Regions from separate parts of the Homo sapiens genome. Here all the other regions are linked to region 1. Evidence: promoter capture Hi-C in human tissues and cell types (Jung and others, 2019). All regions are on one chromosome and are shown on one strand. Each heading gives the region's core, a stretch centred on a gene start or on the middle of the fragment in contact. The rest is flanking DNA. Distances are from core to core; before and after follow the strand shown.

Evidence for each region. The method cuts DNA at HindIII sites, captures the fragments that hold promoters and counts their contacts. A contact is called where the count stands out against the background at its distance.
Region 2: a contact is called between a fragment that was not itself captured here and the fragment with the promoter of LRP1B in region 1, in 1 of the 25 tissues and cell types used here (hippocampus).
Region 3: a fragment that was not itself captured here is called in contact with the fragment with the promoter of LRP1B in region 1 in 1 of the 25 tissues and cell types used here (mesendoderm cells).
Region 4: a fragment that was not itself captured here is called in contact with the fragment with the promoter of LRP1B in region 1 in 2 of the 25 tissues and cell types used here (H1 embryonic stem cells and hippocampus).

Annotation. Positions count from the first base shown.
Region 1 is chr2:142,128,601-142,132,838 of GRCh38, forward strand. It overlaps LRP1B (LDL receptor related protein 1B), which reads right to left and starts at 2,416. Exons shown (of 91, transcript NM_018557.3): 1 at 2,048-2,416. The coding sequence starts at 2,129. RefSeq lists an enhancer at 2,284-3,483. The HindIII fragment of the contact is 3,160 bases long and covers 1,336-4,238 here.
Region 2 is chr2:141,903,143-141,907,380 of GRCh38, forward strand. The region is part of intron 1 of LRP1B (LDL receptor related protein 1B); the gene reads right to left. Among named protein-coding and RNA genes, the nearest start is that of LRP1B, 230 kb to the right of the region's middle. The HindIII fragment of the contact is 4,185 bases long and covers 38-4,222 here.
Region 3 is chr2:141,926,803-141,931,040 of GRCh38, forward strand. The region is part of intron 1 of LRP1B (LDL receptor related protein 1B); the gene reads right to left. Among named protein-coding and RNA genes, the nearest start is that of LRP1B, 200 kb to the right of the region's middle. The HindIII fragment of the contact is 5,827 bases long and covers 1-4,238 here.
Region 4 is chr2:141,979,025-141,983,262 of GRCh38, forward strand. All of the region lies in intron 1 of LRP1B (LDL receptor related protein 1B), which reads right to left. Among named protein-coding and RNA genes, the nearest start is that of LRP1B, 150 kb to the right of the region's middle. The HindIII fragment of the contact is 6,484 bases long and covers 1-4,238 here.

The DNA.
Region 1 (4,238 bases), core at 1,166-3,665:
AGAATTTTAGCTCTTTGCTAACAGTTTTGAAAGTGTGTTAAATATATAATAGTGGCAAAGTGCTGGTCTACAATTATTTTTACTTGTGCTATCTGATATAGTACTTCATGTGGACGTGGTGATACAACACGACACTATTTCATTTTTTAGAAAAAAACTAGCAATCGTTTACCATGTGCTCTGCTTCTATCTTAGATGTTCCTCTCCCTCATGAAACTAAATTGGCACCAAATATAATCCTCTTAGTTATTTAATATTCTATCTCAGAAGAAAGTTGTGGGGTCTGTATTTTTTATGTTCTATACAAAATTCTCTTCAGATATTTACTCCAATCATGGTAGCAGTAGTTCTATCCTCATAAATGTATACAAAAGCATTGAGAACTCAGCTTTAGATGAAGTCAAATTTCTGGAGATTGGAGACTCAATCAGGAAGAGCCCAATAGCAGTAGTCTGCCAGTACCATTATATTTTGCTAGCATACTGGGCTGAAAATCTCCATTCTGTTCATCTGCTCTGGTCCAACTTCAAACATTTTTCCTAAGAAAGGTTGAGAGCTGATTGTTCCAGATCAAAGACATCATCATTTCAAGGCGAGCTATGTGCTTCCATTTCATCAGTATAGTTTCCAACCATTCCACACCAACTTCAAGGCAAGTTGAGCAAGTTCAGAAGCTATGGTTAGGTGGCAATGATATGCTTAAAAGATTATCACCAATAAGTGTCAGATTTCCTAAAGGAACTCAGATTAGTCCCACCACTGGTAGAGGAAATAACACGTGTAGGTATGTTACAAAGGCTAGAATCTGGCTGCCAACAGCAGGTTGAATAGAAACACTGCAGTTCATTCCCCTGTTCTTTCCTATAATGAAGCAATATTTTTTGTCAATTCATAATCTGCTTCATGTAAATACAATAACTAAATCTCCCAATGCAACATTCTGCCTATTTGCTTGGCATTGGGATCTGGGTTTCTTTCTCTCTTTCTCTCTCTCTCTCTCTCTCTCTCTCTCTCTCTCTCTCTCTCTCTCTTATTTAAACTAAAAAGCTGAACTATACCAGTCAATATAAGCTCATTTTCTGATTTTAAAAAAATCTATGATACTTCTGATTTTACTTTAACCAGTTAACCATTCCAAGGCCAGGGCCAGTGCCCCAAATATTCATCTAGTATTTTCCTCCCTTTTTCACCAGTGCATCTGTTGTCAAAGATTATTAAACTCGCACAGGGATTCTTGATTTTCCAGATGAAAAGTTTATAGAATCCCGGCTTTTTCTAATTCCTACCTCCTTTCTCCTCTGCTCCCCATATCCATTCCCTTCTAAACTTCTACCATTCACCAGCTGCTTGGAGAAAAAGGAAAAGCAAAGCGCCAGACTGGAGAGAGGCACTCCAGGGGTGGGTTAGCCCCTCAGAGCACCTGGGCTGTGTCACAGACCCTCATAATCGAAAAGTCAATTTCAAGCAGGTGCGTGCGCCCGGAATCGTCCTAAAAGCCTCTCTGCTGATGACAGGACTCTGACCCCAGTCTGCCCCCAGGAAGGGGCTATAGAAACGAAAGGGGCCTGAATCGGCGCTTTCGCCGCTCCACGGACCTCGAATGCAGCAGGTAAGGAAGTTAACCTGGGAGCTAAGTTGAGGGCGGACACGCTTAACGCGGAGAACCTGGAGCTCGCAAAAGCTCGCAGTTGAGGGCCATCGCGGAGGGAAGTCTTTCGGAAATGCGAATTCTCATTCCAACATCTGCAGCGCTTAGAATTCGCGGACAGAAGCGCACAGCCAAGTGCACACACTCCCGGAGGGGACAAAATGGGGACCGGGAAACGGCCAAAGGGAAAAGCTGTGGGGGTGCCGAGGACTCAGGCACTTGGTTCAGAAATCCCGCACCGCACCTCTCACCCCCGCACAGGGCCAGCGCACGGTGGTCACCCGGTCCCGGGGAGCGGAGCTGCAAGGACTTAAGTTTCACACTCACTTATCTGCAAGCATCGCCCAGCAGGAAAGCCAAGGAAGTCAGGGGAGGGGAGCGGGGAGGTGTTCTCCTTACCTCGGTCGGCTCCCACGGTCAGCACCCTGGCAATCGGCAATAATCCCGAGAGAGTGAGTAAGGCGAGGAGAAACTCGGACATTGTGGTCGCCCGGTAAGGAAGCCTGCGCTGGAGACTGCTCGGCGGCACCTTCGGCCCGGCGGCGGCGGCGGCGGCAGGGGCCGCTTGGAGCCTGGAATCGAGCGGCGTCATTTACAAATGTCACTGGAAATTCTTCAGCTCAATGAGTCCAGCCAGTCAGCCTTCTCCTGCCTGGAGCAGGATGTGGAAGGTGGAGGGATGCGCGCGTGCGGGAGAGAGGAGGCAGAGCGTGTGTGAGCGCGAGCGAGACGCCCGTGTGTCTTGACTTTTCAATGCAGGGTACGTCTGATCTTACATCACGCAAGAGGGGCAGTGAGAGATGCCAGCGGATGGGAATTCACTGATTAATCACCGAATCCACCACACACCCCTTCGTCGTTCACATAAATCACATCTATTACTTAATAAGAGGCATTTAACACAACAGGAAAATACCACCGCGAACGGAGAGCGCCACAAATCACAATTATTTTAATCCCCTTGAAGGGAAAGTAACTCGAAGCTGGTTCTGTGGGGATTTGGGTCTTTGGAGAAGGGAGAGACTTCTGCATTGGCCTGAGCCAGCCAGGCGCCTACAATGCTCCGCAGTTCACAGCCAGCTGAGAACCCTCAGCCGAGCACAGGGCTGCTTCTGCAGGCAAAACAAAGCTTCTCCCTTCGTTCCTCGGAAGCTTCCTTCCCGGGAAGGAAGGACAAGCCAAGGAACAGAGCTTCTCTTAGGGAAATGGTTTCCTCGGCTCTACACAGAATCCCAGTACTTCCTGAATTGCACTTTTAACTTTTATGCTGAGCAGCACCTGGGGACAAAGAGGCAAAATTTAGTGACTCAGCAGAAACAGAAAGCAAAACAACCCCCAAAGTCATTAACCGTTGCGTAAGAAGGGAAGGTTAATGGAAAAGGCTATTGAGGTCCCCAGGCAGGGAACAATAAAGCAACGAATTGGCAGCGTTTTTCTCTGGGGTTCTGTCTTTAAAAGGGTACTTCGAGCCATTTTAAACAGGCTTTGAGGGTTTTGTTGTTTTTGTTTTGTGTTTTGTTTTGTTTTCCTTTTCCATATACTACAGGGGCGGTGTAAGAACTTTCCCGAGCCATCGGAGGCATCAACGGGAATCACTGGAATAATAATATTAGTAAAGTTGTTTTTATGACCACTTAAGTTTACAACATGATCATCCCAGTCCCTAAAATTTTAGTTTGCCATTACAAAGTGGCTACGGAATTAAAACTCAGAAATCTTAATAGTTGTAGACTTACTTTCTTCCTTGTAACATCAGGAATTCTCTTCTAAGAACAAGAGTTGAAAAGGTTTTATATTTAATATTTTGAAACTGGACATGAGTGGAGAGGAAAACTATGAGAAGGGAACAGAACTAAGGAAGAGAACGATTGAAAAGTGAAGGAAGATGCTTTAAAAGCTTTATTTACTTTGCTGTTTGAGACTTATAAGTGAATGCCAGCATTACTATCTACCTATTTATGAGAGTAAAATTATCCAGAAATATCTTTAGATGCTCCTTTGAAGCCATTAAAAACTGGACTAGATGAAAGAACACAGAGATGACTTTGCAGAACATTGTCAATAATCTGTGGATTTCACCTTTTTATTCTTACTCTGTGATTATAAATGTATTTTATGTCACTTTTTCCATGTTTTAAATTATAAAGTTTACTTTCCCTTGAAAATACAACCATTTTGTGTTTGAAATATGACTCCTACATTCAAAAGTGTATGCTTAATTTTTTTTTTTTTTTTTGAGACGGAGTCTCTCTCTGTTGCCCAGGCTGGATTGCAGTGGCGCGATCTCGGCCCACTGCAAGCTCCACCTCCCGGGTTCACGCCATTCTCCTGCCTCAGCCTCCGGAGTAGCTAGGACTACAGGCGCCCACGACCATGCCCGGCTAATTTTTTTGTACTTTTAGTAGAGAAGTGTATGCTTCTTTTCTTCTAAAGTTGTTACATGTCTAATTTTTCCTAGATGTTTTTATTATTTCATAATATAGTGTACAATATAGAATAAAAAGATTTTTTTACATATTTTACTTCATACTGAAAATTCACAAACTTTGAAATGAGTGGCAGAGTTTAAAGAATATGTGTGTGTGCGCGC
Region 2 (4,238 bases), core at 880-3,379, 230 kb before region 1:
AAATCTTTTTTTTTTACTACTTTAATGATACATTTTAAAGTCAAGTCAAAGAATCTTATAGATACTCTTTAATTAATTCTCAAACATCCCTATCTGTATAGTTGGGACTTGACTAATACTGAATCTATATATTAAAGAAGAAACTGTTATAAGAAGGTAAATCAACTTCTCCATGCTGTGCAACAAGCCATTGTTAAATCTGGATTGGATTCTGGGCTTCCAGCTCTGAGGTCCATGTCTAACTAGAGCTTTCACTCCATCTCATGAAATTCTACTATCTTAAAAAATCTAACTCTGCCACTAAACTGACCCTCCCATGAATAATATATTCATAAAAACAAATTTTTGGAGCCTCTTTGGTATAGGAAAAATTAGAAAATACCAGCAAGAAAAGACAGTTAATATTTTAACATCTGTTAAGTTGTGAATGAGATGGAATTTTTAATTAAAAAAATACTGAGAATAATTAATCTATTTTGCTCTAGTCGGTCAAGCAATTAAATTTATTGAGCATTTTCTACATGCTAGGCAGTACACTAGGCATTGGTGAAACGTTTAAAGAATAAATAGTTTTCTTGCCTACAAAGAGTTTACAGATTTGGGGTTGGGAGTTAGGAGCCATAAACACACCAAAAATGTGATAACAAATAACTTTACTAAACAGTATTATAAAGAAACAAGTAATGTGGTAGTTACGTGGTAGATGTAACTGATGGACCAGTTACTTGTTTAGGGTAATCAGAGGATAATGTTCAAGTTTCATCATGGAAGATGAATGGAGAAGCCACGAAAACATCTGGGGAATGAACATCATGAGAAGAAGCAAGATCAATGTCAGGGGCCTTGGGAGAAATAAACACCAGAGAGCACGAAGGGTAATGGAAAGATATGATAGTGGAGCCACAGGCAAAAACGCATAGAATCATATGTCAAGTTTGGATTTTATGCCAAGTGAAATAAAACACAATTACAAGATTTTAAGCAGAGAAACAAAATTATGTGATAGATAATTCAGAAAGACCAGTGGTAGCAATATGGACCATGAGCTGTAGGAAGTGAGGAGAGAAGACAGGGAGAACAGTTGGGAGGCTGTTTATGTAGTCCAGGCTGGGTACAATGATGGTGTAGCTTTCAATTTTAGCTTTGGAAATGCTGAAACGTGGTCAGCTCAGGGTGGATTTGTAGAGATTCAGCCACCAGCACTTACTGATAGCAAGGGTGTGAGGCAAGAGGGTAGGGAAGAATCAAGGATATATCTTAGGCCTTATCCTGTAAAGGTGGTGTGTGGTTGTCCCATTTGCTAAAATGAGGAGGGCTTCTGGAGGGCATACGATTTGGAGCTTGGATGTCTAAGTGCTTTCTGGAACTGTTAGGTTTGGAAGTCTATTCTTTATACAAGTGAAGACCTTGGTGAGGCAGTGGATATTCAGTCTGATTTTAAGAGATGGGGTCCAGACTCCACATCTAAATTTGAGGAATTCAATGTGACATGCAGTGACATGAACTAAATGGTATCGCCTATGGAAAGAATGAAGCAAGAGAGAGGATAGCTAGGAGGAAACAAGCTCAGGTAATTGAAAATTATGAAATATTTTGGTCAAGGCAACCTAGCAAAGGTTAGAGAAACTAGAGGGACACAGACAACAGGACAGACTAATGTCATGTCATGGAAGTTTAAACAAGAAAACATTTCAAGAAACAAGGAAATGTACGCTGTTTTAATTGCGGCTGACAAGTCTAATAAGACAGGGACAGAGACCTGACCACCTACTTGGGTAAACTCTGGACTGTTTTCATTAACTAGAAAAATGATGGGAGCTAGAGCCTAATTAGACTGAATTAAGGAGACAATGGGCAGTGACCAAGAACATTCATATAGTATAGACAATATTTTTAAAAATACGGCTAATTCGGAGATCAGAATAATGGGAGTCCAGAGGTAAAGGGTGCATTGTTTTTCTTTAAGATGGATGATATTAAGGTAGTTTTGTGCATTGAAATGAAAAACTCCGCAGAGTTAGGAATTGGTGCTTAGAGGGTAATTGCTGGATTCAAATACTTGAGAGAAGAGAAAATATAATGTCTAGGACAAAGGGCAGGGCTGGCTCCAAAGGCATCTTCTTTAGCTGTAATGGTGGGAAGGCTGAGGAGTTGAATGGAGATAACGAAGTAAGCTAGAGAACAGAGTTAACATAAAGAGTGCAAAGGTGAATTTATTAAAAAGTACAATCATGGGAATACTTGGCAGTATTGAGGGCTCAGTTGAGATCTGTGATGATAAATTTTGAAGTGAGTCCAATCAACGAGGTTTTGTACTTTTTTTTTCAAGTTATAACTAGTCAGCTGCTTTGGTGCAGGCAAAATTTAAGACAATTGTCTTAAATTGTCAAGTGATGGTTCTAACAAACGGAGAAATTGGAGATAAACTTAAGCATGATTGGAAGTGAGTATGGATACTGATCAAGAAAGGAATCTAGGGCTGAATGAGGAGGAAAGGAGGATGCAAAGGGGAACCATGGTCAGCATGGTAATACTTAAGTAGAATGCTTCCATGTGTGAGAATCAAGCCACCTTCATTCATATAACCATCTTACAGGGAGAAAATGGATCTGGTTTGAATAGATGTGTGTGTGTGTGTGTGTGTGTGTGTGTGTGTGTGTGTGGCTAGGTGTGTATAAACATCTCTAAGAGGACTAGCCAAGATATTTGTGTGTGTCTCTGTGTATATACATCTCTAAGAGGACAAGAGATGCTTGTGTGTCTGTGTGTATACACATCTCTAAGAGGACTAGATAAGAAATTTGTGTGTGTCTCTGTGTATATACATCTCTAAGAGGACTAGACAAGAGATGTGTGTGTGTGTGTGTGTGTGTGTGTGTGTGTCTGTGTGTATATACATCTCTAAAAGGACTAGACAAGTGGGAGGGGGAAGAAAATGAGGGATGGAGGGAGAGAGGGAATTTAAAATAGAACTGTATTTATTTGAGGCAGGGATCTATCACCAAACAAAAGAGCAGTAATGAAACATACAGAGCACTTTTAGGTCTGTACACTAAAATAATTTTTTTAAAAAGTTCTCAAACACTGTACCTCATATTCTTATTGAAAAACAAAACAGAACAAAAAAAAACAAAAACAATGCATGATATAGACACGACACAAATTATGGAGTGTCCATGGTGAGAATCTACTTCATTCTTCTTTTTTCGTATATGCAATTCACCATACTGGATTATGTATAAAACAAAGCAAACTACTCTTTTCACATAAATTGCATTCAAATATTTATATTTTTCGAAGAAAGTTTTGATAACCTGGTGTCAGTGATTACCTGTGAGTCAGTGTACAGCAAACAAGTTTTTTTATCTTAATTGTTACAATACTGAATCTGCAAATTTTAATACCTCTGAAGAAGAAACTAAATAGAAATCTACCTCAGAAGATACTGATGTGACTTTTATGTTGCTCATCTTCCTGTTGATAGTATATTGATTATTGCATTAACATCACATAAACAGCAAAGCATTATAATAAAATAATTTTCTCCTTAAGTGAAACAGTTGATGTAAAAGCTTCATTGTGTGTGTTTTGGTGTGTGCATGCATATTTGTGTAAGTGTGTTTGTGTGTTAACTTTCTTTGTGGTTACAAAGTAGACAAAGACTCAGAATACTTGTAATCTTGTAAAACTAGATACAGCATGTTAAATGTTTATCGTTAGAACATGCCCAGTGGCAGATGGTGGCATGCCATTTTAGAGCCACCTAGAGGCACAAAAATCGTCCCATGTTTCCCATTTTGGCAGAGACACATGCCACTTTGGCAAACTTTAGAAAATAACTAAAAGACTTACACCTTCAAAACAGATTGTATTTATAGAGGGATGTGTGCAGTTCAACAGGGGTGGTGCTGTAGAGGAATTTCAGAATCAATACAATCAAATGTATAGTTCAGTTGGCATAAAACTTGGGATATGAAATTAGCTAAACTGCTTTACTGTGTATCTGCTCTACTTATAGCATTGTAATGAATCCCAAGCAATTATTTTTGGAGAAGTATTTAAATAAATTTCCATGAATTTATGTATTCAAAATAATTTATTTTAAATGTAAATGAAAGGTCAAATTTCATAGAGAACTCAATTCTCGGTGATGGCACTGCTTTTCAATCATTCATATGTTTTACTTTCATACATTGATACTTAGAGAATTTAATAACCACTCCATTTTAAATCTAAAT
Region 3 (4,238 bases), core at 630-3,129, 200 kb before region 1:
ATTAACCACAACGTTGTCAATACAAAGAGTGTCCTAAGATCACTTAGTGATTATCCTAACAAGGTGAACTATTTTTTTCTTCATAAACCTTTACTGTAATGATAAAGAATGTATGTACATATGATACAAAATTAGGTTCAGAATAATGGTCAAATTTTTAAAAAGACTCTCTTTAGAAAGTAGACTGCTTTGATTGTTAGTGTGATTGTTATTTACTGAATCAGAATCATACCTTTTGCCTCTTTGATTAGTTTATAAACCTCTTAAAGGTAAGGGTTCCATATGGCACCTTAAATACTATGTGGCATATACTACATAATCAATGAATATCTGTTGATTGCTTCTTAAAAGATGTTAGATTACAATACTTTTAGAAAGAAAATGATGACCCATTCCCCTAATAGATTACCATCATACATCAATTTGACTGCTGAATTATTATAAACAGTCATATACCATAAGAACTATGGGTAAATGTTGTGAATTTTGAGAACACCATTAAGAAGTAAACTTCAGAACTGTCCTCTACCTGTTTGTCTAAATTTGTCTAAAGTTTTGAATTTTTAAAAAGTAAACGATATTTTTATAAAATTTTAATTTACTTTTCTTCATCTTTTAAAAAAGAATTTGACTTTTTAGAGCAAAACATGTCCATATTTTGCTCATCAGATAATATTTTTCTTATTATATGGTAGACATTCATTGATTTTGCTACTCATGAGTGGTAAGTACCTGTAGGCATATCCTAATCAGTGCCATGCTTCTTTTGATTCCTTTTTAATCTACTTTTCCAAGCTTCCATTTTTCTATGCTATCTTTCAATACATTTCTTCTTTGTTTTAGTTAACTGGAGTAGTTTTCAGTTGTTGCAGCTAAGAACTCTGACTAATACATATGGCAGCCTGCTGATGCCATTGATGAGGCTTTTCTGCACTTGCATGAAAAGACTGATGGAAGAATCATAAATCCTTCTTGAGTTTTACTTGCTAACATTACATGTGTCTTCTGCTTTTCCCCATCTTCCCCCCAAGCTACAGCATCAATAATAGTCATCCTGTCCTTAGCAGCATTAGCCAAACTGAAACTCCAACTTGGCTTTACAAAAAAAAAAAAAAAAAGAAAGAAAGAAAGAAAAAAAAAAACAAAACACTGCCATGTTTTAAAGCTGTTGATGTTCTACCATCTACCATGCATCCTTCAGGAATTTTTCCTGTCCCTTCCTGTTTACAGCTGTCTATGTTCAGCTCACTCCAGTAGGGCTATGCTGTCATTCATTCTCCCCAAAGTGTAGTGGGACAACATTGACTACAGAAAAAAATAGCTTCCATTGCAGCAGCCCAAACATGCCCTGCAACTTGCCACAGGGCAAGTCTTGATGACCTTGTCCCCATCATATAGTTCAGGAAAGGAACAATATTTAAAGGATTTCATATGCATTTAGATTTAAGTTGAATATATTCTCCCTATCCTCAGAAATTACATTTTAATAGAGAGGTTTTTATTTATTAATTTTTGTATTGTACATTGTATGCACAGAAGTACGCAAATATTTTTAAATAATATCATGGCATTGAAACATATGAAAAATAAAACCTGTAGACCATTATTTGGGTCTGTAGGAAGTGAGAGTAATAATATAAAGGCTTTGAAACAACAACTGTCATTGGCTGAATACTGTATATTTTGTAATTTGTTAATGCTTATATTGTTCTTTCAAAGGTACATTCAAAATTTACAGACCTACTGCTATCACATGTACATCTGAAGGCAGACATTCTGAGTCAAACATATTGGTATCTGATGGCAGAACCATATCACTCAGAGCTCATATCTGCTTCTGGATTTGGCTTTGAAACTGTCTCAGAACTTGGCATGTTGGAAGCATGAAATTGGCAATTTCATGAAATCTTTCAGGCTCATATGGCAGAATTTATGTCTTGAAATAGAATCAAAAGTACAACTCAAAGACTGGAGCAGGAAAGGCAGGAGAAGATCACTGTGACAAGTAAGTCCTCTACTTTTGACCTCAGCTATTCTTGGTCAAGAGCAAAAACATGTAAGTCAGGGTGACTGTGGCTCAACTTCACTATAGACCTTTATTAGCTTGGCCTGGTACAGCCCTGAAATCTCCCTGATACCACATTGTTAACCTGATAAAAGTATCTTTGTAGGAGAGCATATTCCTGTTGAGAAATAGACAGCTGCCTTAGAGGGTCTGTGGTTTGATTCATTTTTGCCTGGATCCTGACCTAGGTGTCTGGCAAGCCACTTGTCTAGAATCATCAAAGCTACCCAGAAGTTGAAATATATAGTTAGCAGAAGATTTAAAGGTAAGGATAAACTATTTTTTCAAATGCTCCAGAGACACTCACATATGAAAAATACTGTCAGGTTTAAGACTAAATTAGGAGACCACTTCCAATGCCAAAAGCTATACAAACCTCCACTAACGTACACGACCATTCCTTCCCAGGAAATAACAACTGTAATAACACACACATAATACATGCACACAAAATGTCAACAATGCACTTCATAGGGTGTCACATACTTTAATATTCCTATCATCATATAGCTACGAATCATCAATTTGATTATTTTATTTGATGTTACAGTGGAGAAGTCAATCACATATAACAGGCATGCAAATGATTTTTTTTTCAGATTGAACCATTTTTTTTAAAAGACAGAAGCACAACCACAACATCGTAGGTATGCATTTCCTCAGTCCTTACACATGTGATTTGTCTGTTTACTCTTTCATGGGAAAATGATTGCTTCGTTCATCACGGTCTGTTGTAGTTTTAGAGAGTTAAAATTTTAAACTTTCACTATCATTTTTATTTTGGAAGTAAAATGCTATAAACTAAAAATTCCTAAATCTCAGGTATGCTCTGGCTTCCTTAAATTCTTCTTTCTTAGGACAGAACGTATGCAATTACAGTGTCATCTAAATATGTGAAAATGACATTCCTTTTGTTTGTTCCACAAATACTGGTGTTTGCATGAACTGAGCACAAGGTTAACATCTGGGTCTCAGAGATGAGTAAAATACAGTCTCTGCTTTCCAGATGCCTACAGTCAAGCCAGGAGAAACCGCGGATGGAAACAAAAAAAAAAAAAAAAAAAAAAAAAAGACAGTTAATGCAGCACAAGAATCCCAGATAGGGATGACTTTCAAAATGTCATGAGGACCCAAACCCATACAATTATTAATAAATGACCCTGGCAAATGAGGACTTAATCATTTTATCTACCAATTGCCCAAAAGAGCTTTTCAAAGACTACATGTCATTTCCAGGAACCCGTGGCACATTCTGGCACATGCAAACCACCACATCTTGGATTTTAAATGCTTTAGGAATGTAAAATGCTGAAACTCTGGCTCATGCTAGTGTCTTGGGACTTTTAAATATTAAACTAAGTAATAGTTATAACCAGTTCCTCCATAAAAGATATTAATGATTTTAAGTATTTGAGCTTCATCATTATAATGACCATATTCCCCTTAGCTTAATTTTTACATTTTTAAAAACAAAACTTGACATTTTAAGCCAGCAAGGGACACTCATTGCAGCACAGAATACATCTATCTGTCCTAAATGCCATAATTATTAGATGAGACTCTGCCAAGTGAGTTACTCCTTGGGGACTTCAAAGGTACATCACTTTCCAAGACACTCAGGGACTATTTAGTGAACTGCCACACTGATTTATGCAGTAGAATGGTCAGTAGTGATAGTTCAAATATCAGTAATTTGAGAAAATTAACCATCTTCCAAAATGTATACCAGTCACTGTGGTGGGTGAGCAGAAGGGATAAGTGGTTAATTTGGTCAGTGATTAACTCATCTTGCTGGTTTGAGATTTAGACCAATTTGGCTACACTTTAGGAAAGGTATTTGATTCTTCTTATCTGATGAATTTAAGCTCATGGTATTCTAAAAGCAAAAGACTGAATAATTTTCAAGGCCAAACTCTCACTTTAGAGATAAGAAAATTGACTTACTGAATGTTGTCATAATCATTAGATACAGACTCCAGAATCTCTTAGCCTTATATTTTCATATTTCCAACAAATTGATTTTCAAACTACTTCTCATTAAGATGTAACTGCCTATTATTAAAGGGGAAACCACTCCTTTCAGTTTCCTAGAGACTTCATGCTCTTTCACAGCTCTGAGCTGTTCAGCATGCTGATTCTTTTCCCTTGGTGCTTACATGACCAATACACATGA
Region 4 (4,238 bases), core at 820-3,319, 150 kb before region 1:
GAGAATTAAAAAAAGATGGAAAAGGCCTAAGAGAGTCATATAAAGTTATAAAGACAATTATTTCCATGAAGTAGCTATTCTTAAATCTACTTGCTATGAAATAATAAGGATGAATAAAATTAGATGTCAATAATCAATTCTACCTAAATATTTATATTTCTTTAAATCTGGACCTAAATTGTACAACTCCTCACAATTAGTAATTATAGGATATCACAATTGGAAGAAAGCAAAGAGATAGAAATGTTTATGAGAAAACTATCTCCCAAATATGAATACTTCAAACTTTCCTAACAGGCAGGAATTTCATTAGTGCTTGAACAAAAACCAGTGTAGTAAGATGACACTACCAAACATTTAACACTTATATTGATGTAAAGTCTATCTACATGTATTTGTCATCATTTTGTCGCATTTGGATGTTTGAAATTACACAGGCTAGGTAGAACCACTTTTTAATGGTAGACTCACCAACATATTAAGAATCTTATTTTATATTTTTTCAGGTTCTTCTCCCTCAAGAAAAGCACCCTTGTTCCCTTCTACTTGTCTTCATATTTACATTCAACCTTCTTTTCAGTTATCTTGCCGTCTTGTGTGTTTCCTTTTCCATTAGTCAATGTTCCCCTTTAAAATACATACTGAGAAATACAATGTTGATTTGTATTTCAGTGACAAAGTCAGGAATATTCCATTTAAATTATTTTTTCAGGCCTGGGCAAAGTATAGTTATTAGGATAATGCAATAGTTCAGACACTGCCTCAGAACTGCTTACCAAATTGGATGAGGAAAAACTGCAGGTGAAGTGCAAACCATGCATATCCAAGCCTAGAAAATGACAGTGATCATCATGCCCATTATCAGAAGAATATTAATTTTGACATGATTTTCCAGTTCTTGTAATTGGTTTTTACTCTGTCATGTCTGTTCTCACTCATTAATATGTTTTTCACAACAAGAATGATAAACGGAGAACCTCTTTATATTTGAGGTCACCTTGTATAATTGATACAATAGTCCAAATCATTGAATATCCTAAATTACTCTTTCTCTAGTATGAGTGAGAGAAACAAGAGCATCACCAATTATAAAGCCTAAGAAACAGAAGCTGAACTGCTTACTCTTGAGTTATTAGCAATGCCCTTGAGAGATCTAGGAATGTCACTCATTACCTTGGAAATCAGTAAACTGGTAAATCTGTCCTTGGCACTAGGCAACTAGAACAAAGGTGAAAAGGAATAACATGAACAGTTCCCGACTGCCTGATAGAGGGCCACCAACCTTATGATGCAGTTCCCCAATGCTACAATAAAATGTCCTAGAAAGGCTTTGCACAATTACGTGGGTTTAAGTTATTATTGTCCTATTTTATACAATGATATAAGAAAACCACAGATTTTCATCAAAATATATATTATCACAAATACAAATTATGAATAACATTTTTACTAGAGATTTACCCCTCTCCCCATCTCACCTCATCTGCTTTGTTGAAAGCCTGTATCTGACATTCAGTGGAGAAACTGGAAAGATGGTTGTAAAAATAATTAGAAAGCAAATGGGAATTATGAAATTCAAAACCAAGGATCACAAACCAGATGAGAGTATAAGACAAATCAATAGGACAGCACTATCAGATTTAATTTTCTAGAGGATTGAAATATTTCCCTGCACTGTCCAATGTGGAAGTTACTTGCCACATGTGGCTACTGGGAACCAAAATCTGCTAGTGTAACTGTTAATTAAGAATCAACTGTGAATTTTCCTGAATTTTAAATGGCCCCATATAGCTAGACACTACTGGATTGGACAGCACAACTCAAGACTATGTTCACTTTGACATTTCACTTGTCTCTGAACCTGGTATTTATTTAAAAGCTACATCCTACCTATTGTCTGTTAAGAAGCAGGTTTCCTTCTCTCTGAAAAAAAAAATACCAATTTATGCAGGCAAATATTCGGTGATTATATCTTACATTCTCCAAATATTTTATAAAATAAAAGTTGGAAATATCTATTATGGGTCTCAGCTCTGCCATTAACAACTGCGTGACCTTAAGCAAGTCAGCATGTATTTGGGGCTTAGTTTCCTCATTTGTAAAATGAGTGATGAGAAGAGACCATCTACTGCCCAGATCAGTTATACAATCTTATGGTACTATGTATCATAGGACTGACAGATACTAGTAAGAGAATCAAACAAGGCCATGGTATAGAATGGCTGGTTGGGAGCTTGCTCATTTAGTTAGGGTGGTCAGGATAAACTTCTCTTAGGATTAGGCATTGGACCTGCAACCTCAATGATAACAAGTCTAACGTGAAGATCTTCAGGAAGATCAACTAAGGCAAAAGACACAGTAATTGCATAATTCCTGGGATGGAAATGGGTCTGAAAGAAGTTAAGTGTAGCTAAAATATGAGGCACAAGAGAGAGAAGGACAGCATATCAGATCACAGAGTTAAGAGGGGTCCAGAGAATCACTCCCTTACAGTCTTGATTAGGAGTTGGCATTTTATTCTGTGTTCGAGATTATAAGCAGGGGATTTAAATAAACTGATCTGTATTTTTCAAATAACATTCTAGGTGCTGCACAGAGAATGGGCAGTAGTAGGGAGAACAAGTATGGAAGCATGGAGATCACATAGATGTTTACTCTTTTTTCTTGATGCAGATTTAGTGCCAGAAGTGGCTTCTTGGCCAAAATCTGGATTTCTAGGTTTCCTTTGCATTTAAGTGTGGCCATGTGAGTAGTCCTTATACAGAGGATATAAGCAAAAGAGATGCTTGTCTTTCTTTTCTAGTCAAGGTAATTAAAAAGGAGGTGTGTCTTTCCCCTACTTCCCTGCTCTCCCTTCTGTTTGCTGGGTATCTCCACCTTCATCCCAGGAGACAATGAAAGTCATGTCTTTGAAAATGGCAGAACCTCCATTTTCTTAGATTCCTGAAAGACAGAATGGAGCAGAGCCCTTCACCTTTCCAATCACCAGAAATACCCATGTTAGACTATCACTGACCAAGTAAAAATTTTGGGGGGATTCAGATCCTTAAATATTGCTTTTTGTTTAATAATAACTCGCATTTCCCTAATTAACATAGAACCTCTCCACAACCTATGCCTGTAGTGTAGATTATAGCTAACTCAATCCGTACAGTTCTCCGTAGGTGGGTAGGTGGAGACAATGTCTTAAGGCTCTAGTGGGCTAATGGCTGACTGATATCTAAACCCATGGTCCAAATTCTTTGGAAATCTAATTTAGAACAAGCATTCAAGAAAGTATTTTTAGTTGCCAAAGATTAGTTTAAAACATGTATTATGCAGATCTATATGGAGCCACAACAAACACAATACAGAGCTTGAAGGCTTCATGATAAAAGTAAAGCATTAGAGATTTTTTCCTGGAGGAGGAAGTCTTTAGGAGACACTTTAGAGTGACTTCAGATGATATAAGCCCTACAGTGCAAATACCACTGCCCACTGTGAAATATATTCATTCTTAATTATATTTGAACGCTAAAACCACAACTAATTTTGCTCTATCTCTGTGAACAACTCGGCTATTATGATCTTTTTACAGAATGAATTCAGTGGGAAATATTGAAGTATTATGTATTTGTAATCTAAGAAAAGGAAAACACTTGTACTTTAACCTAAAATTTGCATTAAATTGTTTGAACAATCATAAGAACTTGCACTGTCTCACCTTAGTTATTCACATAACAGGATCCTGTTTGCCTGAAAATAAAGTCATTTCTATGTATAAGACAGCGTGACTTCAAAATGTGGCCTGAAAAGTTGTATGAATAAAGTTTATATTTAGAACAATGTAGTATTTGAAAAGGAGCATCCATTTTCTTTTATGCTAAACAAGCTTTACATTTCATTTGCATTTCTGTCACATTTCAACAAGATTATATGTTCAGAGAGCTGATGTTATGACTAATTTCATTCACATTTAAGAAAAAATGTAGCCAGTTTGAAGAGAAAAAATATAAAAACACTAAATAGTGTTCTAGAACAGGAAAGAGAAAAGACAATGATTTTCTGCAGCAAAATAATGTAGAACATTTTGTAAATCACAGGAGAACCACAGGAGATGTTTTGGGTTGAGATAATACTTGAGGCATGGTATAGTAAAAATAATGGACAGAAGTAGAAAAAATATCTCACTTCAGAAAAAAATTTGGGACGTATTTTTCTATAGATACTTTGTCATTACCCTTTCCCCTTTCTCTGCT